3 separate regions of the Homo sapiens genome follow, and regions 1 and 3 are each linked to region 2. Evidence: promoter capture Hi-C in human tissues and cell types (Jung and others, 2019). All regions are on one chromosome and are shown on one strand. The core of a region is centred on a gene start or on the middle of the fragment in contact, and the rest is flanking DNA. Distances in the headings are between cores, read along the strand shown. Region 1 overlaps LRRC49 (leucine rich repeat containing 49). Region 2 holds the start of CT62 (cancer/testis associated 62). Region 3 overlaps LRRC49 (leucine rich repeat containing 49).

What was found. Contacts are between HindIII fragments. The study calls those that stand out against the background at their distance.
Region 1: a fragment that was not itself captured here is called in contact with the fragment with the promoter of CT62 in region 2 in 2 of the 25 tissues and cell types used here (bladder and mesenchymal stem cells).
Region 3: a fragment that was not itself captured here is called in contact with the fragment with the promoter of CT62 in region 2 in 2 of the 25 tissues and cell types used here (lymphoblastoid cells and mesendoderm cells).

What each region holds. Positions count from the first base shown.
Region 1 is chr15:70,913,069-70,917,700 of GRCh38, forward strand. All of the region lies in intron 6 of LRRC49 (leucine rich repeat containing 49), which reads left to right. Among named protein-coding and RNA genes, the nearest start is that of LRRC49, 23 kb to the left of the region's middle. The HindIII fragment of the contact is 3,399 bases long and covers 352-3,750 here.
Region 2 is chr15:71,112,436-71,116,808 of GRCh38, forward strand. CT62 (cancer/testis associated 62) reads right to left here and starts at 3,069. Exons shown (of 4, transcript NR_168260.1): 1 at 2,489-3,069; 2 at 1,196-1,328. It overlaps THSD4 (thrombospondin type 1 domain containing 4), which reads left to right and starts at 3,036. Exons shown (of 18, transcript NM_024817.3): 1 at 3,036-3,263. RefSeq lists silencers at 2,850-2,899, 2,936-3,113, 2,960-3,019, 3,050-3,189, 3,340-3,429. The HindIII fragment of the contact is 8,632 bases long and covers 1-4,373 here.
Region 3 is chr15:70,930,479-70,934,443 of GRCh38, forward strand. All of the region lies in intron 7 of LRRC49 (leucine rich repeat containing 49), which reads left to right. Among named protein-coding and RNA genes, the nearest start is that of LRRC49, 40 kb to the left of the region's middle. The HindIII fragment of the contact is 3,552 bases long and covers 366-3,917 here.

The sequences.
Region 1 (4,632 bases), core at 801-3,300, 200 kb before region 2:
TGTCTTTGAAATGTAATATTTATAAATAGTTACATGAGCTACATACTTATGCAGAATGTAAAGTCTCTTCTGCAGTGATAAGCCTACATCCTGGGATGATCGGGGAATCCCTGCCTGTTGATGAACAAGATCTTTCACAGCTGCTTACAGTTGGTCAGGTGAAAACCTCAGTGTGGTCTCTCTAGGCTTTCTAACAGCTGTTAGTTCCAGTAGTTTTGGTGAAAAGCTAATGTAATTAATAAAAACCTTGATAGATTTAATAGGCCACATCTATTAGGTTCGAATCTAGTTCAGCCTGATGTGTTTGTCTGTGTGTGCATGTAGTAAGTGGGAGGAGTGTTGGTGGCCTGGGAATTGTCTGGCTCTGCAGGTTAGTTACTGTCTGTCCAACAGAGGGGAAGTTATCCAGTTAGATGGTGCTAGAAGGGGAAGAAGAATTAAAGAGTATTGACAGTAAAAGAATATCATATGCAAAGGCACTGAGATGGAAAACAACACAGTAAGTATTTACCACCAGAGAACAGAGCATGTGTGGAAGGATGCTGAGAGAAGAGACTAGAAAGGTAGGCAACGGCCAGATTGTGGAGGGCTTTGTATGCCAGGCAAATTAATTGGTGTTTTATCCTGTATTTTAAAAACTGTTTATAACTATAAATGAAACATTTTATGATAGCAGTATTTTTCTTGTTTATTTTAAAGTGTATACATGAGAAATAATAAACATATGATTTTCAAATTCTAATATATCTTTAAGAGTTTGTGAGTACTACCCAAGATCTTCAAGAGCACCTGATAAATGAATACCATATCATTTGATCTGTACCTTATGTATAGGCATTATTTACCAATCATTATGTTGATGAAAAATGTCTGTTCCTTGTTAGCTGACCTGTGTTATATATTTTATAATTTCAGCATATGTTTGTGATATTGTGTGTGTTAAAATTAAACATTTGTAGTGCACAAATTACTTCTCAAGGTTCTTCCAGTTATAGAACCTTGAGAAGTAATTTGTGCAGTACAAATGTTCTATAACTGGAAGAAGAAAGTTTTAAATGAAAATCTGAGTCTTGTTTCATAATATATGAATCCAAATAGCAAAAATTCACAGTATTTCAAAGCAAAGATACAGTCTTAGTTACCTTAGGTTTCTAAAAAGCCAGGAAGGAACTATTCTAGATGAAACAACTAATGTCCAATTCTAAAAATTTAGCATCTTATAGTAAAGAAGCTAAAAGACATTAAGTGAATGTTTTTTGTCTTTTGAATTTACTTCTATTGGTAATAAAAATATGCTTGGTGCACATTGTGAAATAAAACATAATTGGTTTATGGATGTGAAATCATTCTGAGTAATGATGATGGTGTTCAGGAAATGGATTGGGAAGTAGAGATGGAAGGAGGGGAAATGGAGACAAAACAGTTGGGAGAAACTAATTACAATAATCTTGGCGAGAAGTGATGGTGGCATGAACTAAAGTAGTAGCAATAAGGATATGATAAGGGGGCAGATTGGATAAATATTTAAAAAGTAGAAACATCAAGACTTAGCAATTAATTATATATGAGTAGTGAATACAGAGGAATCTAGGAGGTTGAGTAGGAATTTCTAACCTAGAGCTTGTGTTGGTTAACCATAATTTTTTCTCTCAGTGAATTTTTGCTTTAACATAGACACAGATGTGCTTCAAGAAGAATCTGTTCTTTCAGTGATCTCTTTTCCTCCAGGGAGAGCCTGCTATTTCTGTGGCTGCTTACCTGAAAGCAAACACTTGCCTTTTCTGTATTGGTAGGTAGGAAGGTTATCTTTATCCAGGCAGAGCAATCTAGGTTACTCTCATACACAAAGGTTAAGACTGGAGTATCCAGCTTTCCTAGATGTATTAAGAAGCCTTGCAGACTATATTGGGACACTCTCTGATCTGTATGACCCATAAATGGGCTTTCCAACATTCCCATCATCTTTTTTCTTGCTGTGAAGTATATCAATCAATCAAGACCTATGCTGTCACTTTATACAACCCTTTGCCTGAAGCTTCTATTATCTGCTTTATGCTTGTGACTTTGTCCATGGCTGTAACGAGTAATTGACTTTATTCCATAGCAGATGTTGTACATGATTCTGGCCTGTTGGGTTGCAAACCAAGAAGCCAGATAATATTCTTAGTGATTTTTAAAATATGGGTCTATATACAAGAATTAACCATGTTTCTTTTCAGACTTTTCTAACTAGAAGGTAACTAAATGCAGGCATTCTAATTGTAAGCCCCACCAGGACCATGTGGAAGGGTAGTTTTCTAAAAGAAATGTCCAGAACTATTAGCAGAAGGGAGAAAACACACCGTGCAGATCATACAATTGTCCCCCATAACTCTATATATTTATATATTTCTTGAGCTCAGGAAAGTTTTCTATATTTAAACACTGCTTCTTTTCCATTTATGTTTGTTATATCTGTATTGTTTGTCTTCCATCTCTCCATCTTATCTTTTATTCTTCCTCTCTGTTTTTCCTTAGCATTTTGGGAGGATTTCTAAGCTTGCGCTGACATTACTGATTACTTTTTCTACAGTATCTATTTTCCTTTTTACTGGCTTCTTGCATTTTAAATTCTATCACCTGTTTAGTTTTAAAATATTTTACTCCATGTCTTATTACACAGTTTTATCATCTGTTAATACTCATAATCTTGTTTCTTTTTCAACTTTTATATAATTTTATCTTTACATTAGTTAAATCAAAAATCTTAAAACACATTTTAAACGTGGTCATAGGTTACTTTTATATATTATTGAATTTATAATAAACATGTTTCTTTTCTGGAAACTGGATGGAACCTAGATGGTGTTTCTTGAATATAAGAGTGTCCAAATAACAATGTGAAATATAGATTAGACATCTGAGAAAAGTTCTTTTAGCTAACATCTGCTTTGAAGTGTTAGTAAGAAATTTCAAATATACTGTGATGGCAATACAAATGAGCAAATTAATCTCTAGTGATTGTGAAATTCATTTTAATGTTCATCAGGTTTATGAAGTCCTCCATGAGGACTTCTATTTTGTGTCATGCAGAAACTCATCCCATTGTGCTACACTTGCTCTATTATAATAGTGGGGCTTAACATCACTTTGAGCTCTCATCACTTCACAGTGTTAGTTTTTACTTACCCTCTCCTTAGTGTGCAGCTCAAACTTCTCTGCTGCAGTTCAGTGCTGATTATTTATTATTATTATTATTATTTTTGAGGTGGAGTTTCGCTCTGTCGCCCAGGCTGGAGTGCAGTGGCGTGATCTTGGCTCACTGCAACCTCTGCCTCCTGGGTTCAAGTGATTCTCTTGCCTTAGCCTCCTGAATAGCTGGGATTACAGGCCCATGCCACCACACCTGGCTAGTTTTTGTATTTTTAGTAGAGACAGGGTTTCACCATGTTGGTCAGGCTGGTCTCAAACTCCTGACCTCAAGTGATCCACCTACCTCAGCCTCCCAAAGTACTGGGATTACAGGTGTGAGCTACCGCGCCTGGCCTCAGTGCTGATTATTAACGGCAGCAGCAGGCCATCTGGAGTGGCTGCTGCCATCAGGCCAGCTGCAGCAGGGAGGCGTGGCTGGGGCTGTGGGCTCCATGGAGCCAGGTGGACCTGGGGACAAGTGGGAGCCCTGCCCCTTCCGAGTTGGGGCGGGAGCTCCCCGGGTGCTGCTGCAGCCACTCAAGTCACGGCTGCAGACCTGGGCATCCCTGTGCTGTTGGGGCCAGGAAGCAGGCAGGAGCCCCGCCCTCCTGGGTACAGCTGCAGCCTCCCAAACTGCAGCTGTGGACCCAGGCATCTCTGCACTCTTGGGGACGCAGAAAGTACCCCCCAACCCTCACTCTCCCGACAGGTTCTGAAGTGTTTGTTTCTGCTGTCTGGCTTCTCCCTGCTGTTGGTGCCTGCTCCAATCTCAGAGCAAAGTTGTGGTTGAGCCTGGGTGCTGTGGCAGCCTGGCCAAGTGTGCACATGCTTGGGGCAGTGCTTACACACCAGTCCCTTGCCACCTCAGCTCCCTCTGAACTTTTGGTGCCAACAAGCATAGAAGGGAATCTGAGGGGGGCTGAGGGCAGCTAGGTGCTGGCCTGCAGGTGCCCCTTCATACTTATAGCCTGGGCACCATGAACAGCAGCAGGAAGCAGACAGTTGCCTGAGCAGAAGGGGGCAGGTCCCTGGTGACTCCCTACCTTCAGGCCAGACTGCCACTCCCACCGACTGGAGTGGGAACTTGTGGTACCTTTTCTGGGCCTGCCTGTGGCCGCCCATGGGCCAATCAGCACTCACTTCCTCTACCCTGAAGCCCATAAAAGCCCTGGACTCAGCCAGTGCTGAGCAGACATTGGGATAACCAGCTGTAGAGAGGACCAAAGTACTCTAGGGCCCTCTCTCTGTTGACAGCTGTAGAGACATTGGGATGACCATCTGCAGAGAGGAGCAACTCACTCTAGGGCTTCCTCTCTGCTGAGAGCTGCAGAGTTGATGGGATGACCAGTTGCAAAGAGGGGCTGCCCTTTCTGCTGATAGCTGAACACTTGTCAAGATGACTTTCCTAGTACAGAGGAGCTACCCTCTCTGCTAGGAGCTGAACACTCATCAGAACACCCT
Region 2 (4,373 bases), core at 1,819-4,318:
AGCTGCCTCTAGGGCCAGTGGATAATAATTACAGGGCAAAAGGTTTCAAGTCAAAATTAAAAGGGAATTTCTAACAAAGAGCCTCTAAGAACAATGTGGCTATTTTATGAGGTAGTGAGTAGCTCACCACATCAGATATGCAAAGGGGTGACCCACCCTCCAAGATGCTGTGTATAGCTGACACTGACATGCCAGGCAGGCCCCCAGCCTAGGTAAGCACAGGCTAGCCTTTGACTGTGATCTGAAGCACATATTCTTGGCTCTCTCTTTCGGTGAGGGTCAGTAAGCTATTTTATATGCAAGGACCACATTCTGCTCTTCTGATTCATACGTGACAGACACATTTGGATAAAAGCAGAAATATAACAGGACTGAAAGATTAAAACTTGCTGTCTTAGCATACTTAATATTCACTGATGCTTACACATAATGTAAATATCTCTTTGTTTAAAATGAGTATAGGCTGGTCTCTGTGGCTCACGCCTGTAATCTCAGCACTTTGGGAGGCCAAGAACGGAGGATCACTTGAGCTCAGGAGTTTGAGACCAGCCTGGGCAACACAGCAATACCTCCTTTCTACTAAAAATAAAAAATGAAAAAAAAATTAGTCAAATGTGGTGGCGCACGCCTGTAGTCTCAGCTACCTGGGAGGCCGCAGTGAGAGGATTGCTTGAGCCCAGGAGGTGGAGCCTGCAGTGAGCTGCAATCATGCCACTGCACCCCAGCCTGGGTGACAGAGCAAGACACTCTCTCAAAATAAATAAACAAATAAAACAAGTATTATCTTGACTTTAAAGAAAGAGACTTTCTTGTGACATATAAGCAAAATATGGTCAAAACAATTTGACCAAGGTTGAAAATGGACTGGAATCACTTCTAAGGAGCCAGCCTAGGTCTGTCGAATCAAGTTTGCTCACTAATAATCATACTTTGGTTATGTCGGATGTTAACATTAGAGGAAGAGGGTGGGGGATATAAGGGGATTCTTTGTACTATTTGTGAAACTTGTCTAAAATTATTTCAAAATTAAAAAATAACAAACAAAACCACATCCTTTGCTCCTGAGCCCTGTTCGCCCCAGACATTATGTGATGAACTCACTCCGTTCTTTAAGATCCAGCTCTGCAGAGCATCTCAGATTCCCTGTCCTGAGGCAGGTACTCCTGTATGAGCTCTTAAATACTTCTGCATTTACCTACCACCTACTGGTATGGTTTTCTGACTATATTTCATCTTCTTCGCCTCACGTGGAGTTTCTTTTAGAATGGAAAGTTTTCTTCCTTTCCTCTTTGAATCCTAGCACCAAGGCCACACTCGGCACTGAATACCTGTCTCGAATGAATGAATAAATCAATCTTGTTTGAACAAATCTTATTAGTTTTGCTTTTTTAAAATTATGGTAAAATGTACATAACATAAAAATTTCCATTTTAACCATTTTTAAGTGTATAATTCAGTGACATTAAGTACATTCTAAAGTTGCGCAGGTTTTTTTTTTTAAATCAGTTCTAAATGGTTTAAACTGGCCAGTATTTACTAGAGCTGTTAGATCGACTTAATTTGGACCCATGAGACTCGTGACACTCAGAATTAATCTAATCCCATTTACACCAGGTGCCTCCCATCAAAATCTGTTTGATCAAGTGTGGAATTATTTCATCCCATTGGAACCAGCTCTTGAATCAATCAGAACTGGCTCTGCCAGGCTCCGGGCCAGTAGTCGGTGCTCAAAATGGTGTTTCTTTCTTTGGCCTAATCTCTTGAGTAGCCTCTTTCCCTTTTGTTAATTTTTTTTTTTTTCTGGAGGACAATCTTCCCTGGGAGCTCCCTTCTGCTCCCACGAAGCGCTCTGCACCCAGCCCTGGTGCTGCCTGGCTCTGGGGCAGGGAGCTTGCATTCTGCCACCTCCTTCATTGTCCTCTCGGTATACCTGCACTTTCAAAACAACCCCTGCAGGCAAGCTTTAGAGGCAGCGATAAACAAACAGGCTGACTGAAATTTAGGGAAACGCCTGTATCTGGACAGCCTCTTCAAATATTTGTCACCCCCTCCCTGCTCTGGGGAAAGAAGAGACAGTTCCTCACAGTCACTCTATTTCCTGCCTTCCCAGCTCTGAACACCTTGGCTCGAATGTAAAGAATTTGGCTCTGAATTAGGACTCAAGAAACGGGGCCCTAGCAATTTTCCCTCCATTAACTAAACGCGTCACTTTGGTCATGCCCTTTTGGGGGCAATAATTTCCCAATTCGTAAAATGAAGGGATCAAAGTTTGATTTTTATCATTACTAATGAGAAGAATTATTATTTTTTTGCAGCAGGCTTTTTTTTCCCCAACAAAATATTACTCTGAATAAGACAAGAAAGAATCCCGAACGGCTCTGGCCGTCAGGGTGTGTGTGTCTCCTCCCCATGCTGTCTAACCCCCGTTGGAATTTGGAGGGCTCTTGTCCTTTCCCCTTGGCCTCAGAAGGAGCCCAGCGCGTCCTACCTTGCGTGGGAGTGTGTGTGTGACCAGGGCTCCTTCCTGCCCTTAGAGTCACCGCCCCCTTCTCGCACAGGTTTACAGCACCACTTGCCTCGCCCACTCCCCGCTTTGCCTCCGCCCCATCCTGATGCTGCCGGAATGGCTGTTCCAAATGGAAGGATGCCCGCGTCCGTCCCCTGCCCCAGTCCTTCAACAGGTCCCCACAGACCTCAGGATAAGATGAACGCGGAATTCAGGGCCTGGTCTCAACCGCCCTCTCCCTTTTCCTCTCACTTAGACGACCCTGGCCAGCTGGGCCACTCTCCACTCTCGCCCCCTCCCGCCCTCGTGGCCTCTGTCTAGACCGTACTCCCTCCTACTGGGTGATGTCTCTTCCCCTGGGACCCAGGGACCATCCCGTTGTTGACCTCCGGGGTCAGGGGTGCGGATGGGGGCCGGCCCTTCCCGCGGTCGCCGCCAGGGGGCGGCAGGAGCGGCTCCAGATGACAGCGGGAGGCCGCAAGAGGGGAGGGAGGAAGGACCGAGGGAGCGCGGATCCCGCTCTCGGATCGCAAACTCTGAGCCAGAGCTCTCCGCGCGCGCCTGAACCGCTGGCCGCCCGCGCAGCCCGACGCGGAATCGGGGCACAGCGGGAGCCCGTGCAGGGCGGGCGCGGGGCGGCTGGGCGGCGGTGGCGGCCGTCCATGCGGCGGCGCTCGGGGCTGCCCGGCGCCGGGAACCACGCGGGGGCGAGGCGAGGCGAGGCGGCCGCCGGTCGCTCCGGGACGCGGACCGCCAGGTGAGCAGAGCCGCGCGCCCCGCGTCCCCTGCGCGCCGCCCGCGCGGCCCCGACCCGGCTTCCGCTGCCCAGGCTCCGGCTCCCGCTCTCTGGCCGGCGGGGCGGGCTGGCGCGGGCTACCCAGTGGGTGTGTCCGGGGCGCCGCGGGCTGCGCCGCTCCGGGCTCGGGGAGCCAGCGCGCGCCTGGTCCGTGCGGACGGCTGCGCCTCCTTCTCTGGTTCTCTTCCTTGCTGGGAGTCTTGCTCTGTGCTGGCGCCGGCGCTCATCCCTCCACCCTCGACTCTAGGGACAGTCTTAAACTCTAGGGACAATCCACCTCAGTCGTCCCCGGGTCGGGGCCCCGTGCTCCCCGGGTCGGGTCGGAGGGGACCGGCGAGTGCACACCCAGCCCGTGCGCCCCCCACCTCAGCCTCGCCTCCCTCCCGCCTGGGGCCCGAGAGCCGGGCAAGTCTCGGTCAGCGCTCCTTGAGTCCTGGCCTGGGGCCTCGGATCTGTGTGTCTGTCTGTCTCAGTTTAGTTGCTGCAACCCAGCGAGCGCCTGGAGCCCGAGTGGATGGGTTGTTTCCGCCAACTCTGGACACTTCCTCAAGTGCAGCCTAAGTACCTGCGGCCCCTTGGCGCACTTACAGAAGTAGCTTTTGCACAGCGAGCTCACCTTGGAGCTCTACAGATCTGGAAGTTAAGTTTTCTTTTTATTTGAAATAACATCAGCCCTCACTTGGGAAGGGGATTTTAGGGCGTTCTCGGGCCCACCTAAGTATCTGGAATTTGTGGTCTAGTAAGTTTTTTAAGCAGTCCGCACCCAGCACCGTACCTCCCAGCCTCCTTTGCCGTCTTACTAAAAGTGCATGCTTGCTTCTCTTCCTGTCTCCTTTGCGATCTCTACCACGCTGCGCTTCGCCCTTTTCGGGCTATGAGTCTAAAGCTTGGACGTGGGTAGCAATCATTGGATGCCTGTTGGAATTTGGAATTAGAGAAATAGATACCCGAGAGAGATCTAAGGAATCGCCTTGTCCAACCCTCCTTTCACAGTTGGAGGCACCCAGGACCCCTGACAGTCTGAAGATTTTTCAAGGATCACACAGCTTTTAAAATCCGCGTGTCTTCTAC
Region 3 (3,965 bases), core at 892-3,391, 180 kb before region 2:
AGGATTTTCACAATGGCAGAGGAGCATTGGCTTCATCTTAATGTCAACAACTTTGTTAGCTCCTAACGAGAGAGTCAGCATGTGTTTTGAAGCTTTGAAGTTAGTTATTGACTTCTCCTCTCCATCTATAAAAGTCCTAGATGGTATCTTCTTCCAATAGAAGGCTGTTTCTCTATATTGAAAATCTGTTGTTTAGGGTAGCTACCTTCATCAGTTATCTTAGCTGGATTATCTAGGTAACTTGCTGCAGCTTTGACATCAGCACTTGCTGCTACTTCACCTTGCACTTTTATGTTCTGGAGATGGCTTCTGTCCTTAAACCTCATGAACCAACCTCTGCTAGCTTCTAGCTTTTCTTCTGCAGCTTCCTTATCTCTCTCAGCCTTCATAGAATTGTTGAGAGTTAAGGCCTTGTTCTGGATTAGGCTTTGGCTTAAGAGAATACTGTGGCTGGTTTGATCTTTCCAGACCATTCAAACTTTCTTCCTATTGTTTTTATTTATTAATTGTGTGTTCCACTGGAGTAGCACTTTTGATTTTCTCCAAGAACTTTTCCTTTGCATTCATAACTTGGCTAGCTGGTGAAAGAGGCCTGGTTTTCAGCCTATCTCAGCTTTCAACATGACTTTCTCACTAAGCTTAACCATTTCTAGCTTTTGATTTTAAGTGAGAGACTTGTAACTCATTTTTTCACTTGAGCACTTAGAGACCATTGTAGGGGTTATTAATTGGCCTAGTTTTAATATTGTTGTGCCTCGAGGCAAAGGTAGGACCAAGAAGAGGGAGAGAGATGGGGGAAGTGCCAGTGAGTGGAGCAGTCAGAACACACATTTGTTGATTAAGTTTGCAACCTTCTATGGGCACAGTTTGTGATGCCCCAAAACAATTGCAATAGTAATATCACAGATCACTGATCACGGATAATCATAACAAATATAATAATAATAAAATTTGAAATATTGTGAGAACTACAAAAATGTGACCTAGAGACGAAGTGAGCACATGCTGTTGGAAAAATGGCACTGACTTGGTTGATACAGGATTGCCACAAACCTTCAATTTGTAAAATTTAAAAAAAAGCACAATATCTGCAAAGCATAATTAAACGAGGCATGCATGTACCTTATTTTTTCTTGTTTTTAATTTTTTTCATTGCTCTTATAAATTTAAAGATAAATATTCCATAGTCTTTATCAAGTTACTATATTTTCTTAATTTTTTGGCATTTCTTCATCTGTTGCCTGAAAGTTCTACTGACTGTTACTCATGGTAATTTTTTCTTTATAGTTTAATAGTTTGGAATAGTCAGGATGTTGCAAAGCCTGAGTTGAATTCGTGTCCTTCTAGACAGTTTTGCCAGGAGTGTTAGGGTCATGAATGCCAGGTACCATTTTTTATGAGGGGTCTTTTTAGATTATGTTTGTGATGTAAGTTTGAACTGTAAATTCCAGTGAGGGAAAGCCTATGGTTATGAAATTGAGGCTTTTTATTGATTTCCTCAAAGCTGTTAAATCTAGCTCTCCTAGATTATAAAGACTGGACATTTCCCTAATTAGTCAGCATATCAGTGCCTTCTTACTGGTCTGGTTTTAAGTTCCCTTTCAGTTTTTGCTCTGGGGTATTAAAACAGTGTGTAGAAGAAAATCAGACTGGTGAATTGACTGATATCTATTGCTGTGTAATGGGTAGTAAACAAGTACAAAAACCAGATAAACCCATTAATGCCTTTGGATAACTGCCAAATAATGGACTTTTTTCATTGGCATTTATATATATGATTAGAGTTTTAATATGATGGCTTGCAGCTATTAGTCCTCATATAATAAGTGTCTGTGTCACAAAGTGATAGGTGAAGCAAGTAGTTATTTTGGAATTAATTTAATAAGTCTTTTTTTTAAAAAGGAATACTTCATTGTTTTTTGTTTCCAAGCTTGTTTGATGCTTTGTGAATGAATCTGTTTACAGCTCTCAAAGTTAGAATAATTACCCCTATATATTTTTACTCTAACTTGTTTTGTATGAAAGCCTACATAGTAAAAATGAGAGTAGCTATGATTTTATTATAGACATCTTTGCCCTACTTGTTGCATGTCAGAATCCTTGGTGCATGTCAAAATCTGTTCACCTTTCTTCTTCCTTATTCCTCTAGAGGAAGCTGCTCTAAAAATAGCTCCAGTGATAGATATTCCCCACGTGATCAGATTGCTGAATCATTTAGTTCTTTTCTTTTCTTTTTTCTTTCTCTGTCTTTTTTTTTTTTTTTTTTTTTGAGATGGAGTCTTGCTCTGTTGTCCAGGCTAGAGTACAGAGGCGCAATCTCGGCTAACTGCAACCTCCGCCTCCCTCGTTCAAACAATTCTCCCGTCTCAGCCTCCCAAGTAGCTGGGACTATAGGCACACGCCTCCGTGCCTGGCTAATTTTTGTATTTTTAGTAGAGATGGGGTTTCACCACACTGGTCAGGCTGGTCTCGAACTCCTGATCTCAAATGATGCACCCACCTCACCTCCCAAATTGCTGGGATTACAGGCACAAGCCACCACACCTGGCCATTTAGTTCTTTTATGCAGTTTAGGGATATGGACAACAGTGCCTGAGCAGAGTAGGACAAGCATTTTTCTCAGAAAACAAATCAGTATTTTTTTGGAAAATAAAGAATTATAATCCTCTCAAATAATCTTGTGGTAAATAATTTTTTCTATTTTTTAAAAGATTATATTTTCCAAATACATAAAATAGTTTTGAATTTTACTTCAAAAAATGTTTTGAATATTATTTTCAGTATTATGTTTTATTAAAAATAATAAATTTAAGATAATGAGGAAATTAATAACGAGCTATAAATATTCCCCTACATGTAAACATTTTATTTCATTTTTTTCCCTCTCATCTTAGGTATGTTAACATTCTGGCTTCTTTGTTATAGTTTCTCTGATGCTGAAATAGTTACCTCCAGAAAGGATATGTTAGGGGTATTTAATGCTTGACAGTAAAATAAATACTTTTTCTTAAATAGATGAGAATTTACCTTTCTTACATTATCCCTAACCCCCATTTCCACTTTCCCTGTCATTCCGAAATAATTTTTAGGTAAGCAGATTGTTGAGTGCTGGCTCCTGCAGAGTACCGCCAGAATGACTAGTTGATAAAGCAAAGGAGAAATTACTACTGGCAAGTAAAAGCACACTGCCTTGACATAGCCTTGGCTGTATCTTCGAAGGCAGAGACAGGAGATTTAGTTTGAAATTTCTTGGGGTTCTGGTTTAGGGTGGGTCTTTCAATGCAGGGGCTTAATGAAAATGGATACATTTATGATAGAATAGATTAGGATGGTTGACAAAGCACGGTGAGGTTTTCAAAGTGAGTCTTGGACCATGATGTTAAACTTTTGTTTTCCCTGAGATTAATAGCTGTCTCAATTTAGGGCTTGTTTAACTATCATTAATGTCCAAACTCTCCAACAAAACCCTAAAATCCCTTTCTGTATAGGCAAAGACTTCAGGTGATCTGTGTTTCATTTTTACCTCTTGGAGATACCCTTCTAGAGCCTCCTGTCCCCTGTCTAATGAAGTCTGCTTGCATTTAGCCCTGCTATACAGATTTCATCCTTGGATTTCTCTTTGCCTCTCCTAGATGATGAATTGTACTCCCTGAATCTTATATATATCCCATCTTTTGTTTACTCTCTTATATTAGAGGAGCCATCCCCTAGTAGTTTTTAACAGGTCTTTCTTCTGTAAATAATGCATGCATAGATAATTGATACGGTAAATACGGTGTTTTCTTTTTGTCTATTATAATGCTAGAATTTTGTTACAAAAGTATATCACAGAATTGCTAAAAAATTGGAGAAAAGTTAACATTTTCTTACAGAAATGAAATTTGGAACAACGAAAAATGATTGTGTATAATTATTTGCTTTTTAAAGTTCTGGAAAGGGTATCTATGTAAGTGATTATGAGGATA